5 separate regions of the Homo sapiens genome follow, and regions 2, 3, 4 and 5 are each linked to region 1. Evidence: promoter capture Hi-C in 16 types of primary human blood cells and fetal thymus (Javierre and others, 2016). All regions are on one chromosome and are shown on one strand. Each heading gives the region's core, a stretch centred on a gene start or on the middle of the fragment in contact. The rest is flanking DNA. Distances are from core to core; before and after follow the strand shown.

Region 1 (3,336 bases), core at 611-3,110:
TTTCTGAGTGACCTGACCAGCTGGCCAGGATTCCTGCTCTCTGACGAGACCACAGAGAGGAGAGAGAGTCGTTATTTTTGAAGATCTGTGTGAAGAAGCAGCAAAGGTGACATACTGAAAAGGTCTGTGTCCTGGCTCTAGAAAAAACAAAGTTGGCCACTTTTCTTTATGCAGCGAAGATATCATAGCTCTAGATGAAAGGCTTTTCTTCAAGATGTTCCCCCCACCACTGCTGTTTCGAAGTAGGTTCAATGACTGAGATTCCATTGCTCCATAGACCAAAAACTAAAACGAGCGCTGCCACACAGCTAAGCGATGTGTGCATAGAGATTCTCTGTATTTCCATCAGTTGGGAAACTTCCTTAGTGCTGGGCTCCTATCAAAATATGCTGGGCTAAATCTGCTTTCACAAAATAGCCAGGAAAGGTGTTTTGATCACTTCCTGAGCAAGGATTAGTACAGGATAATTCACTTTTCATGGCCGGAGTGTGGTTCTCAATTTCAAAGACACTGAAGCTAATTTAATTTCCCATATTGAAAGAAAATTGCCTTGGATAAAAAGTTTTGTTTTTGTTTTTATTTAAATCAGGTTATCTTTAAATAGACTCATGACAGTCCCCAAGCACCTCTTTCCAAATCTGATTTGTGAACAACACAAAAGTAATGCTGTGTTTATAAAAATTGTTTTGGAGCTGAATTTACAGAGAAAATCTTGTTGAAGGTGCAGACACGGAAAGACAGTGTTTGGAGGTACCTCCCACTGCCATGCCAGGTGTCCAGAGGTGTCAAGCTGCCAGTGTTGATTCAAATGAAAATGATAATGTTGAAGAAGGAGGCTGCAAAAGTTCCTAAGCAACCTGACGGGATATACCTTGTAAAATGCTTTCAAAAAAGCTTCAAAGGGCAGCTAATAAATGAATATACTGACAGGGTTTAATCGCTTCTCCTCTCTCCTAGTAACAGGAATTAAAGGCCACAGGTGGTTCTGGGTTGGAGGCAGGACCCAAAAGTAAATGCAGCATTCAGAGCTGCACAGGCCCAGTCAGAGCAGCTGCCACTTCAGGCACTTACAGTGGTCACCCAGGATTCAGGAGATGCATATTATAAGTAACTCAGTTCTGTAAGAGCTAGGAGTTAGTTCACACTGCTTGGGCTCTCACTAAGTAAGCCTGTGCAATGCAGGCAGGAAGGGAGAAAATGCTTACAAAAAAGAAATGAGTAGATTCTTGCCTTAGGAAAGTCAACGGGATACAATTCCTGATGGAAGAGCAGTTGCTATTCTAAGAGCTAATTAACAAGAAACAATGCTGCAAAAAACTTGGGAGACAGGACGGCAGAACACACCCAGATGGCCTGTGGGAAATTCCCAGGCCTGCCAATGATGTGAGAGAGGACATCTTGTGAATGGGTGGGTACAGCCTGTTCTTCTGGGCAAGACAAACAGTGCAGGACTCTATATGCCAGGGTGGCTGAAGCCCCAGTGTCCAAGAGGCTTGCCCATTCCTCCCTGCCCCTGGCACTGAACCCAAGCTTCCATGGGGCACTGTGGAAGAGGCCTTGCCTGACGACAAGTAGACCAAACACGACCGTCCGTCCTCTAAAAACTGCACCCTTGGAATTGGGGACAGGCAGAATAACCCTTTCACTAGCTTGATACTTAGCCTCTTGGGGTTCTGATAAATCCTTTTGAATAACCAAGCAGTTTTGTTTTTAATACCTTGGCCTGAGCCCTTTAGATGCAGCCATCCTCAACTTACAAAAAAAACAAACCAAAAGAAAAAACAAAACACACACACACACAAACAAACTTTGATTCAATTGACAAAGGTTTTCAAGGTGTCTACTACATGTAAGGCAGCACACTAGGGGTTTCTTGGGGATACGCAGATGACAAAGACAGTGTCTCTTCATCCAGGAGCTAATCAAGAGAAGGGGGAAGAATCAAGCAAACTTCATAATACACAGCCGGATGAAATGAAAAGAGACTTAGATCAAGTGCTGTGAGAGCTTGGAAGAGGCACGGGGCAAATAACACTGGGGCTGGTGGTGGGAAGGCAAGTGACAGCCTCGTGGAAGAGGTGGCATTTGACCAGAGATGAGGACGAACAGAATTAACATAGTAGGCATGAAGGAAGAAAATGCGCCTGAGGACACAGCCAGCACAAATGCAGAGGCATACAAGTGCCTGGTACAGCTGGCATGCAGGGATGGCTGAGGAACTGCGGGGGCAGCCGGTGGGATCCATCCGAGGTGAGTGATGAGAGCTGCACGGCAATTTAGGGGATGACACTAGCCACAGCGTGATGAATAAATCTTAAATGCAGAGGTAGCGCCTGGTGGTGAGCAGTTAGAGGCTGAGACAATAGCTGAGAACACATGACAAGTTCAGCAACTAGGAGAGTTTCTAGTTAATTGGAAGGAAGAGTTGGAAGCACATTCTAGAGGGCCGTGGAAGAATAAACACAATCCACTAACTGCCGGGAATGGGAGTGAAGAGTCCAAGATCACAGGGTCCTCCCTGGCTGCCTGATGGGGCAGTGGTGTTGAGTAACAGAAATGGAACAAAAGAGGGGCAAGAGATTATTCTTTGTAGCATGAGTATTAGTAGCAGTGTTAGTAGTAGTAGTATTTTTGTTAGTGGAACAAAGACAAAAATAGCTCACACTTACTGAGATCCTACAGTCTGCCAAATCTGGGAGGCTGATGGGCTCCGCTTTGCATTGGAGGTGTGTGGGCACCCACATGCAGATGAATTCTAGGGTAAATCTGGGGTGCAGGCCAGGGCTGGCCATCTAACGCTCAGAGACATTGAAATTTGAGTAACCACTGAAGCTGGGAGGGCAGGTTAGATTGTGGAAAGTGACAGAGACAGACTAGAACTGATACCAGCCCTAGGTCTCAGACACATTTTATTTGGCCTACCTAGTGTGTTTTGAAATAATTTTAATTACTTCTCAAATATTTAAACGCTAGGAAATGTCACATCACATGAAAAGTCAGGTTTTCCAACTTCTCGTGGAAAATGAGATACTCGGGAACACTGGGCCTGCACTCCTCTCATAGAAACGGCCTGGAGTTGAGCAGGGGCTTCTGCTTTTCATGGGGCACCAGATGCCCAGTCAGTCACATGCCCCACCACTCCCTATCACCTCCCACCTGGCTGGTATCACTCACGGACTTTCATGGCTCCTGACCCCTGGTGTAGGGTGAGAAGCAGCCAGAGTGGCAGCTGGAGGATGCCATGAAGAGGCCAGAGGAGGATGAATACCATGAAACAGAAACCAGGACCGGGAGAAGGAGGGTCCGGGGTGATACTAAGGGGGTAGAAGCTTTGTG
Region 2 (3,271 bases), core at 689-3,188, 270 kb before region 1:
AAAAGTTAGCTGGGCATGGTGGCAGGCACTTGTAATCCCAGCTACTCAGGAGGCTGAGGCAGGAGAATCGCTTGAACCCAGGAGGCGGAGGTTGCAGTGAGCCGAGATCGTGCCACTGCACTCCAACCTGGGCGACAGAGCGAGACTACGTCTCAAAAAAAAAAAAAAAAAAAAAAAAAAAAAACTCTGAAGAGGTGCCCTGAAGCATATCCGCCCAGTGCTATAGCCATCCATCAGTCATTCCTGAGAGGGGTAGGCCACGAAGCCCAGAGAGATCGCCAAATGCACATCAGCGGAGAAGTGCTCAAAACCCTCTTGCCTCTTAAATCAAAGAGGTAGCTGTTGTAGCCCTTTTCACAGCCCATCAGTGAATTCTCCCAAGGTTTCTACAAGTTGTGTGTGTGCACATTTCACAAATCCACATGCTCATGGTACAAGTACACTTGCACAAAACAATAAACATTGGGGAAGAAAACATGATTATTACTTCTATTTAAAATCTGAGTTCTGCACCTTTGGGTGCTTGTCCTAGATTCTCTTCCCTAGTCTTACATTTGTACACAGATCATTTGTTCTTAATTTTATATTCCTCACACACAAAAAATGGAATCAATGACTAGGCACCCTGTTTCTGAGTCAGATTGTTCTCATAATATGAGGTACACCCTATGGGGAGGTACACGCCATTGGAAGGATCTTGTAGCAGGTAAAGGGACAGACATTTATTAATGCATATGTTGTGCCAGCAACTCTGTTCCATCTCTTTTACTCCTTGTAATTCCTCAGAGTGGAATAAGACAAAGCCTCCGGGAAGTTAAACAATTTACCTCTTACCCAGCCTTTGAGTGGCAGGACCAGAGTTCACGACTCAGGCACCTCTGGAACCAGGCCTGTGCTCTCTTCCACCATACCACACTCAGTTCTTCAATCTTTTGCAATTTCTATTGAGCTAAGCCAATTGAAAACCTCCTTGTAATTGGTAGGTTATCTGTATGGTGCTCTTTTGAATTAAGTATATAAACCAGGGGCATTTTCATGCAGGGTGGGTAAAATCATTTTATGTCTCTTAATCTTTGCTCCATTGTGAGTAAAATTATAGAATGTGACTTATTATATTCCTAAAATTAGACGCCAGAAGAATATTATATTCTCACAATAAGAAAATTTTATTCTAAAGGGGTAATATCCATCCATAAATGTAAACTACCTAAAATCAGATATGTATAATCCTTAATGGAAGGATGACAGCTGTGCATAAAATTTTTTTTGTAATATGCACTTCAGATACCTCTCCAATCTACTAGAAAGCACTGTCAGTGAGTTTGATTATCATCTTAATATACAGACAATTGTTAAATGGCATAATAGCCATCTTATCATTCATAATGCTAAATAATAGTTAATGACTAAATAATACCCTAGTGATCTAAAAGGACAAATGTCATCCAAATCTACTATACTCAGGAGAAGGGAAGGTTTATTCCTCCCAAGATGTCTGTCCCATTTCTTTTATAAAACATATAGACCAAATTTTAGATTCATTTAGAAACTCAGGTTGGTCAAGAAAAAGCTTTACTGGGTTTACCAATTCAAAGATGCCATGGTGAAATGAAAACATAGGAATTCTATTCAAACAGTATGAAATTATTTATGCTGATTTACTCTTAGAATGTTTCAATAAGATAACATCAACTGGGTAAATCAGTTGAGAATATTGCCACCATAACCATATTTATGTTTTCTTCTAGAATTTAATTCTTGGTTTAAAAACAGGAGGAGCAGTTTAGCAAACAAAACAAGAACAAGCAGGTTCACAGACCTTTTCTTCTACACTGTTTATAATTACCCAGGCTTAGTCAGCTTTTCAAACTTAAAACAAGTGCACAGCCCATATATGTCAAATCAGTACATTCCTCAGAACTCTGCTATTCTATAACATTAATAATATCTAAATGCTGTTTTTTTTTTTTTTTTTTGAGACAGAGTCTCACTGTGTCTCCCAGGCTGGAGTGCGGTGAAGCAATCTCGGCTCACTGCAACCTCCGCCTCCCAGGTTCAAGCGATTCTCCTGCCTCAGCCTCCCAAGTAGCTGGGATTACAGATGAGTGCCACCACGCCCTGCTAATTTTTGTAATTTTAGTAGAGATGGGGTTTCACCATGTTGATCAGGCTGGTCTCAAACTCCTGACCTCATGATCCACCCGCCTCGGCCTCCCAAAGTGCTGGGATTACAGGCGTGAGCCACCGCGCCTGGCTGCTGTCATCTATTATTGCAGAATTGCTACTGAAGTCTGATAAAAGCTTGGGGATTATGAGGAGGGAAGTATGCACAGAGGGGCAGTGAAGCATCATGATGTCTTGGATTTGCCTTCAAAATGCCTCTCCCAGAAAAGTGGGGGTGGAGGTGGAGATGGATGCAACAAGCCTGGTGAAATACCAACGCTCATTAAAGCTATGTGACCTGGATACATGGGGGTTCACTATACTATTCTCTCTTCTTGTGTATATGAAATTTTCCCTAATAAAAAGTTTTGTTAACATTATCACTTCACAACAGAATTAGGAGTCCAACGTTATTTATTTCAAAAAGTAAACTCAATAGTATTAGACCATAAAGCCTAGAATACAGATTAATAGCTCAGTGCTTTCATTTATAAACTCCCTCCCCCAAATTCGCAGAAAAGCTGCAAGAACAGCACAAGGAACTCCTAAATTTACCAAATGCTAACCTTCGGCCACCTTTGCTTTCTCTCTCATATGATACACATATACATATAAATGCACACATACATGCATATATCCTTTTTTCCTAAAGCCTTTGACATTTAGGTACAGATATCATGTCCCATGTCAACCACAATAAAAATATCAAATTTAAGAAATTTAACACTGATACAATGCTATTATCCAATATACAAGCCATATTCAAATCTCACCAATTATCACAACACTGTCCTTTGTCGCATTTTTTCCCTCATCTAGGATATAACCTGAAATCATCCATTGCATTTAGTGGTCTCTTTAGTCTTCTTCAATCTGAACAGTGCCTCAGCCATCTTTCATGACACTGACTTACAGAATGTCTCTTGATTTGCCTTTGTCTGATGTTTCCTCGTGATCAGAACCAGGTTATACATTTGTGGCACAGTAAGTGGCATTGTGTCCTTCCCGGTGCTTCCTATCAGGAAGTACAGGATATCAGTTTGTCCCATTATTCTTTTTTTTTTTTTTTTTGGAGATGGAGTTTTGCTCTTGTTGCCCAGGCTGCAGT
Region 3 (3,427 bases), core at 139-2,638, 310 kb before region 1:
CATCTGTGATTCAACCATCCAGATACTACCACAGTTAAGACTTCTGTGCATTAAAATGTTTATATTTTTACCAAAAAAAATTAGTAAATTTTGCCACTTAATTTTGCAAATTGGTAAGCTTTTTTCACTTAAGATATCCTGAACATTTCTGTGCCCATAAAGAAATAGAATGACAACATGAGCTCTAATGGCTACAAAATAGTCCACTGGATATATACAAAATAATTAATTCAGATTCCCTCCCAGTTGGTGAGCAGTATTGTGATGAATCTCATTATCAGAAATCCCACTCTCTGATCACCACCTTCCATACTTCTAGTTCACTCCTTGCTGGTCCTACATTCCAACTCCAGCCAACTTGATTCTTCCTGGTCCTAGATTCCATCCATCCTACCACTTTCGTCACTGCCTCTCACCCTCCTCCGATTGCTTTCTTCTTCCCCCAGCTTAAAATGCCATGGTCAGTCTCCGTACACCTCACTTGAATACTTCCTCAACACTTGCATCTTCCCACTGCATTAGGCCCACTTAGCAAAACCACACCCTGGTAAAATCCAACACTGCCTGTATCAACATAGCTAAACAAGGCTGGAGAAAAACACTCTTGAATCGAATGGCCTCACATGAAATTCATGGCCTCAAGCCTCAGGTGGATCCTCAATGTAGTGCAGCAATCTTTCTACTTTTCCCTACTCCATTTTCTCCCATTCTCTTGGCCCAGTGCCTCTTAAACTATCTGCTGTGAGGACTAGATGTTTTTATTTCCAATCTATTATAGACCAATACTTTTTAAAAATACAATAAAAATGTTACAGCAATGTCAAGTGCTATAACAGTTTCTAAAAGCTTGCTCTCACTTTCTGTACTCATCTCCTGGCAAGTCAGTAACCAAGGGCTCCCCAACTGGCCACTTTGTGCACTGCAGTCCTAGATGACAAATCTCAAATTGCCAGCACCTCCCCACCTTATTCACTCTGAGTTGATCATCTTGCTTCCTCTTTCACTAAAAAGGAATGAAAGACAATCAGTTCTTACTGATATGCAAATGATGTTTACAAAGGTTATTACTACACTCCTATAATTGCTTCTGTGCTGCTTTGCAAAAAATGAAAACTAAAAATAAATCACACCCAAACAAATACAGGCTAGAATGGTTTGTTGTTGTTGTTGTTGTTGTTTGGAAAGAAGCAGTTCTTTCAAAGTAGCTTTGTTACTTGTACCAAACTGTAAACATAAAACCTTTGTGCAACCTAGAGTGACTTTTTCCAAAGATTGTTACCTATTTCAAGGTGGAACCATTAAAACGTACTGAACCACAGTGGAAAAGACAACTATTGAGCCTAATTGAGGAGAAGGGTACTGTTTATTTCTGTGGCAACTGTATGTGGGTATATGGACAAGGTCTGTCATCTATTTAGGGACTTGTTTTATATGTCCCCGACCTTATCCACATCTTTTTGTTTTCTTTTGAATGTACTTTTCCAAACAAAGAATTATAAAATTATTTCAACCTTAGAACCTTAAGATGCCTTCAAATGGATTTATGTTAGTCTTTAGGGAGTCAATGTGTTGCTGCTTATTATAATATAGTTCGCTTGGAGCCCCAAGTGTGCCAATGTCCTCCCCACACTTCCCAGATGCCTTCATCTTCCTGTGAGCACTTGAGCTAGGAATCTCAGGTGACTTAATTTGGTTTTCCAGTGCTGAGGAGGCTACATTGTCTGGGGTATATATCCAGGGGCTCACCATTTGGCATTGGAAAATTTAGGACACAGACACAAGGAGTTTGTGTCTGTGTCCTAAACCTTTAGGAGTAAAGGTTTAATAGGCAGAAGAAGAGAAACAGCTCTCTCTGTCGAGAGAGAGAGGGGTTTTCCGAGCGGAAAAGATGGGCTGGCTGTGGATGTGCCGGATTGTATAGTAAAGCTTGAGGAGGTGGTGTCTGATTTAGGTAGGTAGGGCTCACAGATTGGTTTAATCAAATGTGAAGTTTACATAGCACGCCCAAATCCGGTCACCCCACCCTAATCTTATTATGCTAATGAACTCTCCGTGTCTGGCCGCCATCTTGTCGCTCTTTACTGTACACATGGCTGGCACCTAAAGGAAGATGGAGCCAACATGTCTAGTCCCTAGTTCCCGCCAGCATTCACTAGCGCAAGCTCCCAGGTTGGCTGTCTACGTCTGCAGCTCGACTTTACAGGCTGCTCTTTGTTAGAAAATGATTTGGGGCTGGCCGGGCGCGGTGGCTCACGCCTGTAATCCCAACACTTTGGGAGGCCGAGGCGGGCGAATCATGAGGTCAGGAGATCAAGACCATCCTGGCTAACATGGTGAAACCCCGTCTCTACTAAAAATACAAAAAAAAAAATTAGCCGGGCGTAGTGGTGGGCGCCTGTAGTCCCAGCTACTCGGGAGGCTGAGGCAGGAGAATGGCGTGAACCCAGGAGGCGGAGGTTGCAGTGAGCCGAGATCGCACAGCCGCACTCCAGCCTGGGCAACAGAGTGAGACTCCGTCTCAAAAAAAAAAAAAGAAAAGAAAAGAAAAGAAAAAAGAAAATGATTTGGGGCTGCTTTTCATTAAAAAGCCTTACCGAGGACTCCCATAACCTTACTATCTGCCTAAGTGATTTCTTCTTAACCCCTGTATCAGTGCCTACTCTATTGAAAAACTAGTTTTTCATTCTTGAGAAGAAACTTATGGAAGGACACGTTTCCTATCACAAGTTCACGTACTAATTTTTTTGTTTAATTTCCTTGGTGCGACTTATGCCAAGTAATTATGAAGATTTTTTTTCCTGGGTATTTCATGAAGCCTAGGAAGTTGGAACAGGCAAATCCTGGGTGTGAAAGCTTTATTTTATCTACCTCATTTATTTTTTATTTGTTGTAGTCATAGTCTCTGCTTTCCTATTTTAAGACCACTGAAGTATTCCCAGGCCCTGTCTTAAACTTAAGAGTTGATGTATTGGTGGGAAGAACTGAATGTTCAAGATGATCTTTTTATTCCATTTTTTTATAATCTCCTTTTGTACATGTAATAACATTGAGCATATGAATTATTGTTCCTCTAATGGCTTAACGGGAAAGGAGAAAGAAAGATCCTAACTTCTGGGTGGAAAAGTCTTTCCCCTGTATGCGGAAGGCCCTGATTGAAATGTGGACCTAAGACTGTTTGCCAAGTTTTGTCTCTTAGTTATTGCACCTTGACTTTAGGATTCCCCAATTTTTTTTTTCTTTTTTTCTTTCTTTTTTTTTTTTTTTTTTTTTTTGCCAAGCTGTGCCTTTCCTTCTGGAATTGTAAGTGAACACAATAGTACATGCTTACACTGTGAAGTGGATACTGTTACGGAGAACACAACAGTGGCTTTCTCACTGTTGAGATGATAATGTCTTGTGAATGTATGATCTACAGAGAAACCCCTGT
Region 4 (3,572 bases), core at 549-3,048, 280 kb after region 1:
TCCCAGTCTATTTAGACTTGGCGTGGTTGAAGACTCCCTTCAACCCCACCCTCTACCATCCCACCCAAGGAATGAAGTTTTTGCTTTTCCTTCAAAAACTGTGTTTCTTGTTTCCCATCACCCATCCCCATCACCTCATCTCCCTCCCTAGGCGCCGTTTCAGCAAAGCTCGGGGAATCAGAATTTTTTTTAGCATACACAGATTCTTATATCAGTTTTAGGGCCTCTATTAGCATAAAATATACACAAATAAGTGCATTAGCAGCATATAGATGAACCAGGCATATAAAGCCATTTCTAGTTACATATTCTCGTGAGACAATTCCTCTCCTGGTCCTTCGTAAAACAAGTTTCCATCTGTCTTTGCTCAAGATCCATGTTTCAGTGCTGAGTCAAGCCACTGATTCGGAGGCTCATGAATGATTTTCCTATGTTTCCCTGCAATGCATTTTACTTTTTATGCACTCCCAGAAGTTCCTTGCTTTTAAAAATGGTCTTATTATGCAGCTTCAGGGGCTATTTATCACTACATACTTTCTGGACCTATAATTTTTATTTATGTATTTATTTATTTATTTATTTTTGGAGATGGAGTCTCGCTCTGTTGCCCAGGCTGGAGTTCAGTGGCACAATCTCAGCTCACTGCAACCTCTGCCTCCCAGGTTCAAGTGATTCTCCTACCTCAGCCTCCCGAGTAGCTGGAATTACAGGTGCATGCCATCACACCCAGCTAATTTTTGTATTTTTAGTAGAGTCGGGGTTTCACCATGCCTGCCAGGCTAGTGTCGAACCCCTGACCTCAAGTGATCCACCCACCTCAGCCTCCCAAAGTGCTGAGATTACAGGCATGAGCCACCATGTCCAGCCAAGGACCTATGATTTTTCTAAAAGCTTCAGTAGTCTTTAAAACTCTTTCTCCCTCTTAAAGAATCCCTTTTCACATTCTTGGGGGTGATCTCAGCTCACTGCAACTTCTGCCTCCCAGGTTCAAGTGATTCTCCTGCCTTAGCCTCCCGAGTAGCTAGGATTACAGGCGCATGCCACCACGCTTGGCTAATTTTTTTATTTTTAGTAGAGATGGGGTTTTGCTATGTTGGCCAGACTGGTCTCGAACTCCTCACCTCTAGTGATCCTCCTACCTCATCCTTCCAGAGTGCTGGGATTGCAGGTATGAGCCACTGCACCCAGCTGGGGGCTCTTATTTGGAGCTCTCCCTAGATCTTATTCTCCTAGCCCAGTCTCACCCTAAGCAAACATTAGCACTGTACACTAATGTAGCAATATTGCAGTTTTATGTTTTCAAGCCCAGACTAAAATGACTCTAAATTCAAAGATGATTTGGTGTAGGGCTTATGAAAGGTGCTCTTAGTGGCAGAGGGGTGACAGAGAGAAGCACTGGCTTGGGAGGTGGTGATCCTGGGTGATGGTCCATTTTCTGCCAATACCTAAGTATGTGACCTGGAAAAGTTATTTAATGTTCTGTGTCTCCTCTGTAAAGTGAGGGTTTTTGTTTTTGTTTTTTGAGACAAGGTTATGCTCTGTCACGCAGGCTGGAGTGCAACGGCACGATCTTGGCTCACTGCAGCTTCCGCATCCCAGGCTCAAGCTATCCTCCCACCACAGCCTCCCAAGTAACTGGGACTACAGCTGCTCACCTCCATGCCCTGCTAATTTTTGTATTTTTTGTAGAGACAGGGTTTCAGTATGTTGCCCAAGCTGGTCTTGAACTCCTGGGTTCCAGCAATCCACCCACCTTGGCTTCCCAAAGTGCTGGGATTACAGACATGAGCCACCGCACCCGCCTGGGATGGTTTCTTGAGGAGAAATGCAATTGTCAAAATTGCAAGGGTTCATAACAGAGGATAACCCTGTTATTTTCCACTGAGAATTTGAAAAAGGTTATGTTGAGGATTGTTTTGGATTTGGTTCCTTCCAATGTCAACTTCTAACCTTTAAAAAAAATTGTAATGACATGCTTATGCTAGTCCTCAACACGTGGTAGGGAAGGAACACTGGGTGGCTCTAGTGATCTTAAACATCTTCCTACTTCAATCCCAGCCCAACACACCATTCCCCATCCCTCCTTACTCTCCTCACTAACAGCACGGACTCTTCTAAAAAACAAACTCAAACTGCGTCATGGACCACAGTAGCCAAAATCTAAGGAATTCAAGCCTCTCTGTTTCACTGCCAAGCACTATCCCAAAAAGGTCACTGATCTTTGAAATCAGCGAGCCCTGAAGCCCACTGAAGGGGGTCAAAAGAGTTAAAAGATTCCAGATGGGGCCAGAGTAGCCTCTCCAATTTCTTCTGCCTGTGTTGCTCATTCAGGGTGACCTGTACAGGTCACTAAATCTCTATGTGCTTTCAACTCCCCATTTATAAAATTTGGCTAATATTGATTTGTAAGATATTTAGAGAGAGTTGAATTAGGATTACTACAAAGAGCAAATTCCCTAGCTGATTTTTGTGTTACTACTAGTGAAGGCCCTAGGCACAATTCAACAATCAAAAAGCAGCAGTGAATGAGAAATTGCTGAAAGTGGCCAAATCAGGCTTTCTTAGATCTGGAGCTCTGCTGCCCAATTAAATCTGCACACTCACATTGGACAACATCTAGTTTATAAAGGCAAATATTTAATTAGTGGAACCTTAGGACTGGCAATGCTACTTCCAACCCATGTAACAAGATACCCTAAGCTTGAAAAGCAAACCCTGTAAACTTAAACTACTGTAAAATTATAAAGTTTAACATAAAAATGGAAAATCTTTAAATAGCCGTTTTGTGCAATGTTCTTAACAGACAAGACTGCCACACAATGAAACTGTGTAACTGCTAGCAGCAGGCACTCCAGGAAGATAAAATAAACTGGCTTTATGGACCCGAGGAATTGATTTTTAATGAGATTCTGCTTGGCTATAATGGCATCCTGAGAGGGCGATCCAGTTTCCACGGCCTCTGGTATACAGTTATAAGGTGCAGAGCAAGGACTCAGTTAAACAATGCCCATGTATTTGCCCTTTTGGCATATGAGATTAAATAAAATAAGGATGTTGTTCTTAGACACTTTCCAGAAACTGCACATGCACGTGCGTACACACACATACACACACACACACACACACACACACACACACACACACACACACACACAATACTCTGACTTCAGATGCTTTTCCTTAGACATTACCTGCTCGTATATTCTAAATTTTAGAGGACTTGACCCTTGAAGTTATGGGCTTGTGTTTGTATTTCTCTATCGGGGTATAACAACCCATAAATTATTAGATGAACTTGGCTGATTATTTTGTATTCCACTACCTGGAGACATTTATGCTTATATATAAATATGTACAGCAATGGATATGGATACAAATAGGTATAGATAGAGATATGGCTATAGATAATTGGCAATAGAATTGAGAAGGCAGTGTAGTATATTGGTTAAGAGATTCAGCTTTGAATCTTGCCTCTGCCCCTTCCTAGCTGTGTGTCCTTAGGCATATTAATCAACTTCTCTGAGCCTCAACTTTATCTTCCATAAATGTGGATAGTAATACCAATTTTACAA
Region 5 (3,296 bases), core at 293-2,792, 260 kb before region 1:
CTGCTGGGAAAATTTTATGAGCAACTTGTTGAAATTTACAGAGAGAATACATTCAGTTAACCACCTACAGTAAAATGACATGTTAGCAAGAGAAGCAATATACCAATTATGCTGCAAGAAACTAAGAGATAAATCAACTATTTAAAACATGTAATAAAGGCAGAAGAGTTAACCATTTGTGAGACTTTAGCAAAATTCATTTCATTTAAAATCAGACACACCATAAGAAGTTCAGGTCCAACAAATCTTGTGGGTGTTGCCTTCCCTAAAAGTGATCAACTAGCTAGGCAGAATGGCTGGCACCTGTAGGCCCAGCTATTTGGGAGGCTAAGACAAGAGGATCTCTTGAGCCCAGGAGTTCGAGACCAGCCTGGTGGATATTATGAGGTCTCATTGCAAATAAATAAATAAATAAATGTTGTCAACTGAAGCTAACATAGCCCATTTAATTGTTACGGTGTTGAAGTATTTAAAAATTAGCCTGCAGGTAAAGTAATTACATGAAGGTTTTCTTTTTTATTTGTCTTAAGTAAGGTTTTTTAAAACCTCATATTAAAGTGCCTGCAAGAAAAAAATAGTGCATATAAAAATATTTTCCTCAGAGCATAATCTGTAATTAGCCTGATCAAGCTTTGTAGCTTGCAACCAAGAGCAAATTAATAACATAATTGATTCTATAGTGCTTAGCATTTACGGAAGATTAGCCTCCTTGAAAAATCAGGGATTTTTACCCTATTTTCAGAAGTGCGTCAATTTATTTCAAGCCATTAGGTTAACAAGACACTAAATTATGATCAAATAGCATTTGGGTGACTTAAATGAGTTAAGTCATACTCCCAATCTAATTGGAATCTTCGTAAATTAGGAGACACCCTGCACAAATCCAGGGAAGATGGTTCAGTAACTTCAGGGTAAATAGGGGGATGTCACCTAATGATTACTTTCCGTGATAGCAACTGTAAGGGATTCAATGCTGTAAAGGAGATATGCATGTTTATACAACTTTACCTGAGTGCACTCCCCTGTCCATGGCACTGGGCAGGTAGGACTCAGGCAGAATGTCATAGTCTTACCTATCTGAGGAGTCAGAGAATGGAGTTTGGGCTGTCAGAGTGGTTAGAAGTCAAGATGGGAAATCCCTAAAAGGAGCAATCATAGAAACTCCAAAATCTGTGTATAAAATCCCCTCAGATCTTTGGCTGCAAGCAAGGCAAAAACCCCCATGATTCTAGGGCAAAGAGCTAGAAATCTGAAAGTCCCGAGTGGGTATTTCAGCAGCTGACCACCCAAAGGTCTCCTGAGTTCAAAGTTCAAGTCTTGCAAGAATAGAGTGATGTGGCAAACACTTCACGGTTTCCATTAAACTTCAAAAAGCCCACACCTTAGATTTAGGGACCACTTCCAGGACTAAGGGATTTGCCCTAAAACTAAGGATCAAGCTGAATAGATCCACCCTGACAAAGCCTACAATCAAGCCCCTTTAAGTATAAGATGCTCTGTCATAACTTAACTGCCTTATAGAACAAAACTCAACACTCTTTAGAGGAAGGTGATAGAATTCAGAGTCCCTAACATGTATTATCATACAATAAAATATTAGTAGACAGGGAAAGAAACATGAAAATGTAAACCACAGTCAATAAAAAAATAAATCGGTCAATAAAAACAGATATACTCTTTGGGGGAAACAGACATACTGATGCCCCCAATGTTGAAACTAGCAAACACTTCAAGGTAGCTAAATTTGCTAAACTTATAGCACCTACAGTATAAATTTATAGTATCTATAAAATAGTATAAACCTACAGCAAAAAATGTTATAATTGGTGAAGAAATGGGACATTTCAGTGCAGATATGAAAACCATGAAGAAGAACCAAGGAGAAATGTTAGAACTGAAAAATACTACATCTAAAATTAAAGTTATTGAATGGGATTAACAGCAGATTGAATACAAAAGAAGAAATAATTCATGAACTTGAAGACAAGTCAAATCATTCAATCTGAAGCACGGAGAGAAAAATTACTGGGGGTGTGGGAGGAAGCCACAATAACATTTGGGACAGTATTAAGCAGTTAACAGACATGTAATTGGAGTCCTAGAAAGAGAAGCAAGTGAGACCAGTACAGAAAAACATATACAATATACTGGAAAAATTAACTGCACTAGGCACATCATGCAAATGGCTGAAAATAAAGTAAAAAAAAAAAAAAAAAAAAACTTAAAAGTGGCCAGAGAAAAAGGGCGTGTTATATACCAAAAAATGGGTAAGAATGAAAACTTCTCATCAGAAACAATGAAGGCTGAAGACATGCAACAATCCTTAACGTGATGAAAGAAAAGAGGTGTCTACCTAGAATTCAAATCCAGGAAAAATATCCTTCAAAAATGGTTAAATAAAGACTCAGAAAAACAAAATCTGATAGAATTGATCTCCAACAGAACTAAGCTTCAATAAATTAAAAGAATGTCTCCAGGCTGAGGGAAAATTGTCCCAGGTGAAAGCATAGATTTGCATGAAGGAATGAAGAGCAGTGGATAAGGTTCCCATGTGGGTAAATGTAACAGCTTTTTCTCCTATTTTTTCCTTTATTTAAAGTAAGAATATAACTGTATGATGGGGTTTATATCATAGCAGTAAAATATGATGACAATATCTCAAAGGATGGAAGAGGATAAAATGGGATATATCCATCCCTAACTTACAGGTAGATTTTATTACGTCTCATATGCAGATTGTAATCTCAGAGCAAATCCACGCTGTCTGATACTCTTCCACTGTGCAATGCTGCATCAACTGAACTTTTTTTTTTCTTTTCTCTTTTTTTTTTTGAGATAAAGTCTCACTCTGTCCCCCAGGCTGGAGTGCAGTGGTGCAATCTTGGCTCACTGCAGCCTCCACCTCCTGGTTCAAGTGATTCTCCCACTTCAGCCTCCCAAGTAGCTGGGACTACATGCACGTGCCATCACACACGGCTAATTTTTGTGTTTTTAGTACAGATAGGGTTTCACCATGTTGGCCAGGCTGGTCTTGAACTCCGGACCTCAGGTGATCCACCTGCCTCAGACTCCCAAAGTGCTGGGATTACAGGCATTAGCCACCATGTCCAGCCAAGTGAACATTTTTGCCATTACTTGTTTACATTATGAAGTTAAAATATTTACGACTGTGTTTGCCATCATTATCATTTCCATCAAATCCATGAATAGAATGACAAATCCATGAAATGTTACAGGCTTGCCCTACTCACAACCCCTTCTGCAGAAAGCTGACAGAGTTGGGTCCTTCCCCATAA

What was found. The method cuts DNA at HindIII sites, captures the fragments that hold promoters and counts their contacts. A CHiCAGO score of 5 or more calls a contact.
Region 2: a contact is called between a fragment that was not itself captured here and the fragment with the promoter of PRKCH-AS2 in region 1, in 9 of 17 cell types (neutrophils, activated CD4 T cells, total CD8 T cells and 6 more). The highest score is 13.0, in neutrophils.
Region 3: a fragment that was not itself captured here is called in contact with the fragment with the promoter of PRKCH-AS2 in region 1 in 6 of 17 cell types (activated CD4 T cells, total B cells, total CD4 T cells and 3 more); the score reaches 9.7 in activated CD4 T cells.
Region 4: a fragment that was not itself captured here is called in contact with the fragment with the promoter of PRKCH-AS2 in region 1 in 6 of 17 cell types (total CD8 T cells, naive CD8 T cells, non-activated CD4 T cells and 3 more); the score reaches 8.2 in total CD8 T cells.
Region 5: a contact is called between a fragment that was not itself captured here and the fragment with the promoter of PRKCH-AS2 in region 1, in 12 of 17 cell types (neutrophils, activated CD4 T cells, naive CD8 T cells and 9 more). The highest score is 21.3, in neutrophils.

What each region holds. Positions count from the first base shown.
Region 1 is chr14:61,544,008-61,547,343 of GRCh38, reverse strand. It overlaps PRKCH-AS2 (PRKCH antisense RNA 2), which reads left to right and starts at 1,860. Exons shown (of 3, transcript NR_188139.1): 1 at 1,860-2,250. All of the region lies in intron 12 of PRKCH (protein kinase C eta), which reads right to left. The HindIII fragment of the contact is 1,799 bases long and covers 1,533-3,331 here.
Region 2 is chr14:61,817,383-61,820,653 of GRCh38, reverse strand. The region is part of intron 1 of SYT16 (synaptotagmin 16); the gene reads right to left. Among named protein-coding and RNA genes, the nearest start is that of SYT16, 6.3 kb to the right of the region's middle. The HindIII fragment of the contact is 731 bases long and covers 1,573-2,303 here.
Region 3 is chr14:61,857,966-61,861,392 of GRCh38, reverse strand. The region is part of intron 1 of SYT16 (synaptotagmin 16); the gene reads right to left. Among named protein-coding and RNA genes, the nearest start is that of SYT16, 47 kb to the right of the region's middle. The HindIII fragment of the contact is 1,080 bases long and covers 849-1,928 here.
Region 4 is chr14:61,263,431-61,267,002 of GRCh38, reverse strand. It overlaps a transcript of PRKCH not described here. Among named protein-coding and RNA genes, the nearest start is that of TMEM30B, 16 kb to the left of the region's middle. The HindIII fragment of the contact is 1,809 bases long and covers 894-2,702 here.
Region 5 is chr14:61,800,231-61,803,526 of GRCh38, reverse strand. No RefSeq gene overlaps it. Among named protein-coding and RNA genes, the nearest start is that of SYT16, 11 kb to the left of the region's middle. The HindIII fragment of the contact is 1,819 bases long and covers 633-2,451 here.